Linked DNA regions of Homo sapiens: regions 1 and 2 are each linked to region 3. The links are contacts of gene promoters, found by promoter capture Hi-C in blood cells and fetal thymus (Javierre and others, 2016). All regions are on one chromosome and are shown on one strand. The core of a region is centred on a gene start or on the middle of the fragment in contact, and the rest is flanking DNA. Distances in the headings are between cores, read along the strand shown.

Region 1 (3,595 bases), core at 776-3,275, 1.6 Mb before region 3:
GTCACCCAGGCTGGAGTGCAGTGGCACAATCTTGGCTCACTGCACCCTCCGCCTCCCAGGTTCAAGCGATTCTCTTACCTCAGCCTCCCGAGTAGCTGGGATTACAGGCATGCACCACTACGGCCAGCTAATTTCTATATTTTCAGTAAAGACTGGGTTTCACCAAGTTGGCCAGGCTGGTCTAGAACTCCTGACCTCAAGTGATCTGCCCTATTTGGCCTCCCAAAGTGCTGGGATTACAGGTGTCAGCAACTGTGCCCAGCCCTCTCCTTTAATTCTTATGAAACCTTTGTAAGGTGGACGTTGTCAACCCTATTTTACAGATGAGGAAACAAAGGGCCAAGAATTGAAATGACCTCTTCAAGATCACAGAGCTAATCACTGTATAGCAGGGTGTCCACCCCAGCTGAGGGTGAAAATTACGTCTGTTCCATCACGGCACCCTCTCGAAGGAGGTGATGAAGAAACTCGTTCTGTGCTATTCCTAATAGCAGTCACTTCGGGCACTGCTTCATCAGCAGCTCCTACGGCCATCTTGGTGTCCATGTCCACTCCGTGTCTCAGCACTCTGTAGCTGTCATCAGTTTGATGCATCTCCCCTTCCCTAGGAGAACCGACAGGGCTGTCTCACCTGTAACACAGGTGAGGGGTTAGGGAGGAGGTAAGGGGTTAGGGAGCTTGCATGTTGGCCATCCCAGGCACTGCCAAGAGCCAGATCCATTCCTTTAATCCATTGACCCTGGAGTTTGGGAAGAGCTTTCATTCTGAAGCATAGGACTCTGAATTTGCAAAATGTCTTACAGCAGAGACCACCATAAAAATAATTGCACTTTGGTTGCTCTTCTGGATAATCTACAGATTTGTAAGTCTAGAAAATCAGACACTGCCATTGAACCAAATTTGAAATTCTGTAAGGCCTTGGGGTGTGTCCAGGTGCCCTGAGGAAGTGACCAAGGCCATCAGGGTGCTGTTACTGACTTAAGCTTGAGTTTCTTGACATCGGCATCTTTTTCCTGTGGGGAGGACTCCATAGCCAGGCTGGTGCCAGCCAGGACCTGGGTGCCCTTTTCCCTGGCTGCTTGTCTGCTTAGGCTCTTTCCAAGGCTTTAGTTCTGCCCATGTCTGTAAAGAAGGACCATCTTAGGAGAGGGAGAGGGAATGCCAGAGGCCTCCTGGTTCATCATCTCATTACAATACCTCTAACACCTTTGACCTTAGAGTCCTTCTCTTCTTCTAGAGCTACAAATAACACCAGGAAGGTGTGTGGCAGTGGTAGGGCCTCCAGACAGACTTGGTTCCACCAGGCTTTGGAGGGAAGTCATGTACCTCTCAGCCTCATACTCCACATCTGCAAAATGGGAACACGAAGGTCCATGTTGCCAGGGTAAGGAACAAGGCATATTTAGCACTTGTTGCCAAGTAGGTATTCCATAAATGGTTACTATTATTCTTCTATAATAAACTTATTACATAAATCTAACTTTATAGGGCTTATGGGAATTGGAAGGGCTCAGCTCTGATGTTCCCTTCCTCCTTACCTCAGCCAGGAAGAATCCCCCTTTTCCTCCCTCCTGCAGGCCTTGTCTTGCCTGACCATAGAATCTAATACCAACCTTGTAATTGTCATCTGAATACAGACTGCGTCTTATCTACTTAATAGATTGAGGCTCACAGAGGTTAAGGGCTCAAGATCGCAGGCCGGTTAGTGGGGAAGCTGGAGTTCATACACTGACCCGTATTCCTTATCTCAACACCATGAGAACAACAGCATTAAGTGCCAAGTTTCAGAAACTCACATGAAAACTCTTGCTTTTGCTTAGAGGTGGGAATGAGAGGTTCTGAGCTGTCCCATATTGGACATAGGGAACTGGACAGGCCTCCTGGTCTCTAGCACACAGCATATTTTACAGGGAACTTACCAACTTTCCACTTTCCCAACCGGAGGAGGGTTTAGAAACAGCCCCCAGTGATATGGGTGTAGAAACTCCTGAAAGAGTATAGCCATGGAGAGGAAGTGCTCAGAGGTGCTGGGCCAGCAGGAAGTGGGAGCTGTTTCTAGCACAGAGGATGTGGCTCAAGACAAGGTATAAGAAATGAAAGTCAAGAAAGAAGTAGAAGTGGGATACTGAGGTGCCTCAAGCACAAGGAAGTGGCTTTATTGGCCAAGGTGGAAGGACAAAACAGCATTGCAGCGAAGATTTTGGGTGGGTGTGGAAGCCATTTTTCCTCTTATAGTGGCTGCATGAGGGAGGTGTTGGAACCTGGGGATTAGACATCTGGTGTATGGTGATTCTCAGTCAACTCTCACGGGGACTGCATAGAAACCATCTTGAGGAGAAATCGAACTTGTGAAGGCAAAGAAACATTGATTTCAGTGAGGTTTAGTTGACTGAGTTGTGCTTGCATTTTAGTCTTACAGCTCTGCAGGATGTGCTGGTGAGCTGGGAGCTACCCTGGGGAGGCAGCTCTGGTTTTCCTTAGTGTTGAGGGGTCTACCAGCCATTGAGCACAAATGGTGTGCTGGGGCTTACAGAGAGCAAATAATTTCATCCTCACAGTAACTCGTAAACTAGACAAATGCTATCACCCACATTTTACAGAAAGGAGGCAGCTCAGAATCACAGTATTTAATTAACTTGTCCAAAAGTAGAGTTCAGCTGGCAAATTGACGTGAACCCAGGTCTCTCTGATCCAGAATTGAGATTCTTTCTGCTAGGTGGCTTATCCATATACAGGTCTTGTTGGGAAATTTTTCTCCCCTGCCTATGAACGAGAAGCATAATCAGAGGCCACTTTGCGGGGCAAGGGTCCCTTTGAAAATCAGATGAAAGCCACTATGAAAGAGTGCATATGCCCCACAACTTTAGGGGGCTGAGGGCACCTCTGAGGTGCATCCAGAAGTCTCTTAATGTCTATGGAGCCCAGCTCAGGAAACCTTGTGATAAGGAAAAAAGGAACCAGAAGATGTCAGAAAAGAAAGAATTTTTAATGTAAGCAGATTTAAAAACTGCATTGTACGTACAGCCTACACACTCTGAATTTGTTGCCTTGAACATAACAAGCTTACATAAACAGGCTTCCATTACCTTATATGATAAATGTTCTTCTGGTTTGTAATGTGCACGTGAAAATGGACAACTCATTTGAACATTCTACAGGTAGATGTTTTTTCCTACCATAAAAGCCAAAACATCAAATAGCTTAAAACAATATACCTGGAAGTCGACATGATAAAATAGCATCACTTCCTTTTCCTTTACTACTCAGTTATTTTTCCCTGAGGGCAGTCCCTTTGCAGGTGGTATAGGGATGACTTCCATGCTATCACCCAGACTCACTTTACACTACTGCTATAGTCATCTTAAAGAAATTTGCATTTCATTGGAATGTATGTGTTTTCACTAAATTGATTATTTATGTTATACTCCCTTCCAGTGATCCTTAAAAATGTTCATGCACTGAGAATCACCAATGAACAGAGATGGAAGGGAGCTTAGAGATCATCCAACCTGACCTCCTTTACTTTTACAGATGGAGAAACTGAGGAGCTGAGAGGTTAAATCCCAGGCACTCAAGAAGTACCTGTGAAATGTGA
Region 2 (3,281 bases), core at 544-3,043, 1.5 Mb before region 3:
CACAGTCTCAAAGATAAACCAAATATGATAAATTAATCAGAGACTTGTGCTCTGGCTGAGGTTGGGGGGAAGGGGAATGCTTGAAAAGGATGCTTGATGCCCCAAGCCTGTCCCTGAGAGGAACCCCCAGAGCTCTGCGTGCTTCAGTTGAGTAGTGGAACTGAAGACTGCAGATTTCCAAGCAAACAGCAGTGAGTGATGATATGTGAGGCTGCTGTAGACTAGTAGCTTCTAGAATGCACCTCGAATTGATCCTATTCTTGTCCTAAATCAGCACCCACCCTGCAGGTCCAAGCAGGTCCAGCAGGCAGCCCTGAGTCTTTTTTTTTTTTTTTTTTTTTGAGACAGGGTCTTGCTCTGTTGCCTGGGCTGGATTGCAGTGGCAGATCATGGCTCACGATAACCTCTACCTCTTGGGCTCAAGTGATGCTCCCTCCTCAGTCTCCTGACTAGCTGGGACTACAGGTATGCACCGCCATGCCTGGCTAATTATTATATTTTTGGTAGAGAAAGGGTTTCACCATGTTGCCCAGGCTGGTCTCGAACTCCTGGGCTCAAGTGATCCACCGACTTCAGCCTCTCAAAGTGCTGGGATTACAGGCTTGAGCTACTGTGCCTGGCCTGCTCTGAGTCTTTGGAGACAGTCTTATCTGCATTCATTCCTTCTGGTCAAGGTCTCTCTTCCTGACTTGCATTTCTGTAGCTTCTTTTCATTCCTGACCGTGTCCCAACTGCATATCATCATGGATTGAACAGTCTCATCTCTGATCTAGGAAGATATTCCTTTTAATTTATTCCCATTTTTGGTATCAGTAAACTCCACTCTTCTTTGCCCTAGGTTCTGTTAGGTGACTGGGTGTGCACAATGAGAACTTTTAAGAACACCAGGTCAGGAGACTGATCCCAATTCTGAACCTTACAGAATCTGGAGGTAGAAGAGATAAGATGTCAGAACTGCTTTACAGCATTCCAGGAAAATGTTCTTCTAACTCCTGCGTGAAAGCTTCAGTGATGCGAAGCTCACTGCTCACGCGGCCATCTGCCCTTCTCATGATGGTCTCTTGTTGTTCGGGGCCACACATTTCTTCTTGTCCTTCAGGCCCTCAAAGTCCACTTCATAGCCAGTGTCCAGTGACGTCACCCCTCTCGGCCTCACTGTCTTCATTGATCACGTGGTGAAAGGAGCACTGGGTTAATTAGCATGTGTGAAACACCCTGAACGCCATCAGACCCCCAGCTCATTCTCGTTAGTGTCAATCAGGTTGCTGCTGTGGTTGTTGCTATTAGGATAATTGTCATGGCCTCTCTTTCACCTTCTGCCTGGCTTCTTTGGCACCACTTGGCTTCATTATACCACTTGCTGGTTCTCAGACACACCATGCACCCCACACAGCACCCCGGTCCTACAGTGGCTCCTCTACAGGATGCCCAGGGCACCCTCCTTTCCAGCATTCCTGCCCTCACCATGTTCCCTCTCTCCTGAAAACCTTGACTCACCCTCTGGAGCTCAGCTACAACCCAAGTTCCCCAGGACACCCCTAACCTCATATGGGAGCCTGATGCCTGGGGCTTAGGGCCAGCCTCTGCTACTAGCAACCCTCTGATATTGAAAAATGTACTCACCTTCCTTGTTCTTATTCTTAAAACAGAGATAATGCATTTATTGCAGGTTGTTGTAAATATTAAATGAAATGAGATATTTAAGTTGTGTGTTGGATAACACATCAGCCAATCCCTCTTTCAAACACATTTTTCTACCTGATCCTCACAGCCGCGTGGGAGGCAGGGATCTTTTCTTTGCAGGTGGAAACACTCAGCTTTGGGAGTGGCAGGTCCAAGACTACCCAGTTCCTGAGGGCTTCATTCAAACTTGAACCTAGGACTTCGGAATTTACAACTTTTGTGTTATCCACTGAAAATTTGCAAAATTATTGCTGATGGATCTAGTAGGGTCTCAAAAAAAAATCCTCAAATTAAATCAATTAGATCAAACAGAACTCTGTGATATTCTGATTTTTAATTCTTATTTATTTATTTGCATTTATGTTGGGTTTCGATTGCAAGATTCTCTGGAGAAAGCAACTATAATTTTATTATGAAGTGATATGGTTTGGCTCTGTGTCCCCACCCAAATCTCATCCGGAATTGTAATCCCACATGTCAAGGGAGGGGCCTGGTGGGAGGTGATTGAATCATGTGGGCAGTTTCCTCTGTGCTGTTCTTGTAGTGAGGGAGTTCTCACAAGATCTGATGGTTTTAAAGTGGCAGTTTCCCCTGCTCACTCCCTCTCTTGCCTGCTGCCATGTAAGACTTGCCTTGCTCCCCCTTCTGCCATGATGGTTAAGTTTCCTGAGGTCTCCCCAGCCAAGTGGAACTGTGAATTAATGAAACCTCTTTTGTTTATAAATTACCCACTCTCAGACATTTCTTTATAGCAGTGTGAAAATGGACTAATGCATGAAGGAATAGATGTATATAGAACAGAAGTTGCTTTCTTGTTGCTGGGCACCAAAATGGATTTTCTAGGATGTTTGGCTTTTGGGGGGCCTGAGAGCCCCCCAAAACAGGCATTTAAAAGCTTAAAAGCAAAGTAGCCTCTTCTGACATAGCTATGATGGTTTCTGTCACCCAGGGTCTGTGCATGGGAATAACAATACATAGCTCACATTGAAAAAGTGCTTGAGGGTTCACAGAATGTTTTTTTCAGCCCTACACTTTAGTTGATGCAAGCCAGCCAGCAGCCCTGTGAAGCTGTGTGAGTGTGAGACTTACTACCTCCAGCCCAGCCTTCCCATGCTGGCTGTCCTGCTAAGCCCAGTGGGTGTGGCCTGTGCCTGGGTCTGCTGCTGTTACTCACCCCTCACTTCTGAAGCCACATCAAGCGTACTTCTGTCTTGAAGACTGCGGATCCGCCTTGAACAGGAGCCAGCTCTCATCGTGTCATTCCTGACAGATTTCTTAATTAATCTGCTCAGATTGTCAATAATGTAATTCACTGTTGATTTAGAAACTAGTTATATGAGGACTGCTAGGGCCATTGTGGGAAAACATCTGAATAATTCAGCTAATAGATGGGAAACTCACCCAGATCGCCAGGGCACAGGGAGAGAGCAGCTAATTCGAACGGGATGAGCTCAAGTAGGGTGATTCCAGCAAATTCCAGGGAGCAGGGAGAGGTTGTCATATTGCTAGGGGCAGCAGCTGCCTGGTTTAATTATTGTCATTTTGGTTTTTGGAAAAAAGCACATGGGCCCACACTTGCAGGCAGAGGCCATTAACAC
Region 3 (3,551 bases), core at 669-3,168:
GTAGGTGAAAAATAGAGAGGAAAACTTAAATTAAAAAAGGTAAGATGCTTCATTTAGCAAACTGTGTGTCAGGTTTTCTTTCAGTTGGAGGCTCAGAGAAAAGTTAGGAAGAAGCTGGTCTTCCTACTTACCCTCAAGGTGCTCAGTGGTGGGAAATAGACTGGCACGTGACTGTGGAGTGTCAAGGTCCGAGGATACAAATAGCCTTGGTGGGGGACACAGGAGAGGCTACTAACCCAGATATGTGGGGGGTTATAGGCTATATCATGTCCCCCAAAATTCATGCTCAGGCCTAGCCCCCAGTGCCTCACAGTATGACTGTATTTCAAAATAAGGCTTTCAATAGGTGATTACATTAAAATGAGAACATTATGATGGGCCCTAACCCAATCTGACTGGTGTCCTTCCCAGAAGAGGAAATTTGGAACTTCAAGGAGACGCCAAGGATGCAAGCACAAAGGAAAGGTCCCGTGAGAACACAGAGAGAAGGAGGCGGTCTGCACGCTAGAAAGAGAGGCCTCAGAAAAAGCAAACCCTGCTGGCAACTTGATCTCCAGCTTCTCTGGCCACCTGAACTTTGAGAAAACAAATTTTCTATTGTTTAGGCGGCCCAGTCCGTGGTATTTTGTTATGGCAGCCAGGATAGACTAATACATCCAGAGAGGTGGATGGCATAGGGAAAAGGTCAAGCAGGCTTGAGGATGCAGTACTGTCTTAGAGAAGAAAAGGGAGTAACTAGAAGACTCTTACTTCCATATACTACATACACGTGAAACCACCGGTACATGCTAAATGTCCAAAAGTGAAATTCCTGAGAAAGAATAAAAACTATTCTATTCTCAAAGAGCTAAAAAATTTTAAACTCCTAATTCTTCTTTCTTCTTAGCCTATTAACCCACACTCCAACCACCTATCTATATTTCACGTTTGTTAAGACTTTTTTTTTCAGAATTAAATATAATCCCAAGTTTAAGTCCAATACTATTAAGACATAAAAAAAAAACTGCTTTCAGCTCATCTAATGTTTTCAATCTTCGTCTCAATTCTATTTTTTTGAGAGAGTTTCCCTGGAGAATATTATCTTTTTGTTTGTTTTTGGTTTGCTTGACATCATTTTTAAAAGGCATCAGTTAATGAGTAAACACAGAATAAAATATCCAAATAACTGCGCAAACACTGTTACACTGTTAGGCAGTTACACTGTTAGGCAGCAACAGTGCTGATGCTGGACTGTGGCAGGCAGAGGGTGCTATCCTGACACACTTCACCTTAGTGCAGGAAACTTCAATTTGGTGGAAGAAAGGCGATTTCGAGGTGCCAATCTGGGCGACACTTCCCAGTTGGAGAGTCAGCAAAAGGGAGAGGGCAATTCCAAGAAGAGGGAAAAGCTTGTGCACAGGTGAGTGTGTGCAAAGGTGAGTGTGTGCACAGGTGAGTGAGTGCACAGGTGAGATAAGATACAGGAGAGGGAAGAGCCAGAACTGCGCCCTGTTCCCGCAGGAAAGCAGCTCTGCAGGATTAGAGGGGCGGGGACGCGTGGTCAGAGCTAGGAGTTGAGGTCGGGGAGGGAGCCCATGGTCTGCAGGGCCTGGTCAGTCATCCAAGGGCAGTAGTGCGCCTGCAAGTGGGCGTTGAAGAGCCCGTTACACCGGGAAGGGACTTCTCTGTCCCTCGCGCGTGCACCCCCGCCCCCCTCCATGCACCCGGCATAAGCCGCAGAGGAGGAACTCAAACCAGGGTCGGGGCCGCCAGCCACCCGCAGAACGCACACGGAGCTACCTTGGGGCCGACGGCGCGGGGCCTCATTCGGTGTCAGCCCCGGGAGCCGGCGCCTGGGGACCGCGCAGGCCCGCGGAGCCGCGCACCTGGGGCCCCGGGGCCAAGCGTCTGCTCCCGAGCGCCGGCCGTTTATCGCGCACATCTCGCGGCGAGGAGGAGAGGCCGGAAGGGCGCCCCAGCCCCAGGGCTCCTGCCCCGCCTGGGCCTCCGGCTTTCGTTTCCCCGCAACGCTTCGCTTTCGTTTCCCGCTGGCGCCTGGCTCCCTCCGGGTTTCGTTTCCCGCCGGCGCCTGGCTCCCGCCAGGTTTCGTTTCCGAGGCGGGGCCGAGGGCGGCGTCGCTGAGGCGCCCATGGCCTTCGCCCGCCGGCTCCTGCGCGGGCCACTGTCGGGGCCGCTGCTCGGGCGGCGCGGGGTCTGCGCTGGGGCCATGGCTCCGCCGCGCCGCTTCGTCCTGGAGCTTCCCGACTGCACCCTGGCTCACTTCGCCCTAGGCGCCGACGCCCCCGGCGACGCAGACGCCCCCGACCCCCGCCTGGCGGCGCTGCTGGGGCCCCCGGAGCGCAGCTACTCGCTGTGCGTGCCCGTGACCCCGGACGCCGGCTGCGGGGCCCGGGTCCGGGCGGCGCGGCTGCACCAGCGCCTGCTGCACCAGCTGCGCCGCGGCCCCTTCCAGCGGTGCCAGCTGCTCAGGCTGCTCTGCTACTGCCCGGGCGGCCAGGCCGGCGGCGCACAGCAAGGCTTCCTGCTGCGCGACCCCCTGGATGACCCTGACACCCGGCAAGCGCTGCTCGAGCTGCTGGGCGCCTGTCAGGAGGCACCACGCCCGCACTTGGGCGAGTTCGAGGCCGACCCGCGCGGCCAGCTGTGGCAGCGCCTCTGGGAGGTGCAAGACGGCAGGCGGCTGCAGGTGGGCTGCGCACAGGTCGTGCCCGTCCCGGAGCCCCCGCTGCACCCGGTGGTGCCAGACTTGCCCAGTTCCGTGGTCTTCCCGGACCGGGAAGCCGCCCGGGCCGTTTTGGAGGAGGTAAGAGTTCTGTCCGCTTCCAGCTCCCAGCGTGGCATCTGAACCCTTCAGACCAGAGAACTGGACCAAGAGGCTGGTCTGTAGAGCCGGTTCTTGCCTGGGTGGTTTGTTTATTTCCGTTCACAAATCAGGTAGGGAAGGTGTCCTGTATGCCAGGCAACTCTTTTAAGATTCTTGTTTGCAAGGATCTTCCAACCTGACGTGGAACATAGACCTACACCAAGCCACGCGATGCTTGCTGTAAAAGCATCCCAACAGCAGTACAGAGGGAGTAAAGGGGCTGCCGGGAGTGAGGGAAAATAATGTCAGCTGGGAAGTAATTTTATTTGCTGATGATCACCATTCAAGGATCTTGGGGTGAAAAAGAAAATGCATGAGTTTAGGGGGTTTAAGAAATTTAGACTTAAATAGTGTTTACCTACCGACTGGCCATGAACCTTGTGCAGGTTACTCAACTACTCTAAGTTTTGCCCTTTGACATGTACAATTCCCATCTTGCGATGTTGTCCTGATTAAGGAAACATCTGACTCACAGCAGGTACCCACAGAAAGAGACTGAAAATTCTTTCTGATCGCAGGCTAGGCAGATGTCCTCCTGTGACACAGATGAGCCCTGAGGATGCCCCCATGGATCTTGGGAATATTTTCCAAGCTTACGGGACAGCGTTGTGGAGCAGTTAAGAGCGCAAGGTCAACCACGTGTATTTAAATTTAAACTCTGGCATTTATTAGCTGTGTCACTTTGAGC

The links. Contacts are between HindIII fragments. The CHiCAGO score rates a contact against its expected background, and 5 or more counts as called.
Region 1: a contact is called between a fragment that was not itself captured here and the fragment with the promoter of CMPK2 in region 3, in 1 of 17 cell types (erythroblasts). The highest score is 5.4, in erythroblasts.
Region 2: a contact is called between a fragment that was not itself captured here and the fragment with the promoter of CMPK2 in region 3, in 1 of 17 cell types (erythroblasts). The highest score is 6.9, in erythroblasts.

What each region holds. Positions count from the first base shown.
Region 1 is chr2:8,471,277-8,474,871 of GRCh38, reverse strand. No RefSeq gene overlaps it. Among named protein-coding and RNA genes, the nearest start is that of LINC01814, 110 kb to the left of the region's middle. The HindIII fragment of the contact is 2,079 bases long and covers 986-3,064 here.
Region 2 is chr2:8,315,531-8,318,811 of GRCh38, reverse strand. All of the region lies in intron 2 of LINC00299 (long intergenic non-protein coding RNA 299), which reads left to right. Among named protein-coding and RNA genes, the nearest start is that of LINC00299, 11 kb to the left of the region's middle. The HindIII fragment of the contact is 1,575 bases long and covers 1,006-2,580 here.
Region 3 is chr2:6,864,274-6,867,824 of GRCh38, reverse strand. CMPK2 (cytidine/uridine monophosphate kinase 2) reads left to right here and starts at 1,918. Exons shown (of 5, transcript NM_207315.4): 1 at 1,918-2,803. The coding sequence starts at 2,129. It also overlaps a transcript of RSAD2 not described here. RefSeq lists silencers at 1,658-1,927, 2,168-2,607 and an enhancer at 1,928-2,147. The HindIII fragment of the contact is 2,067 bases long and covers 1,391-3,457 here.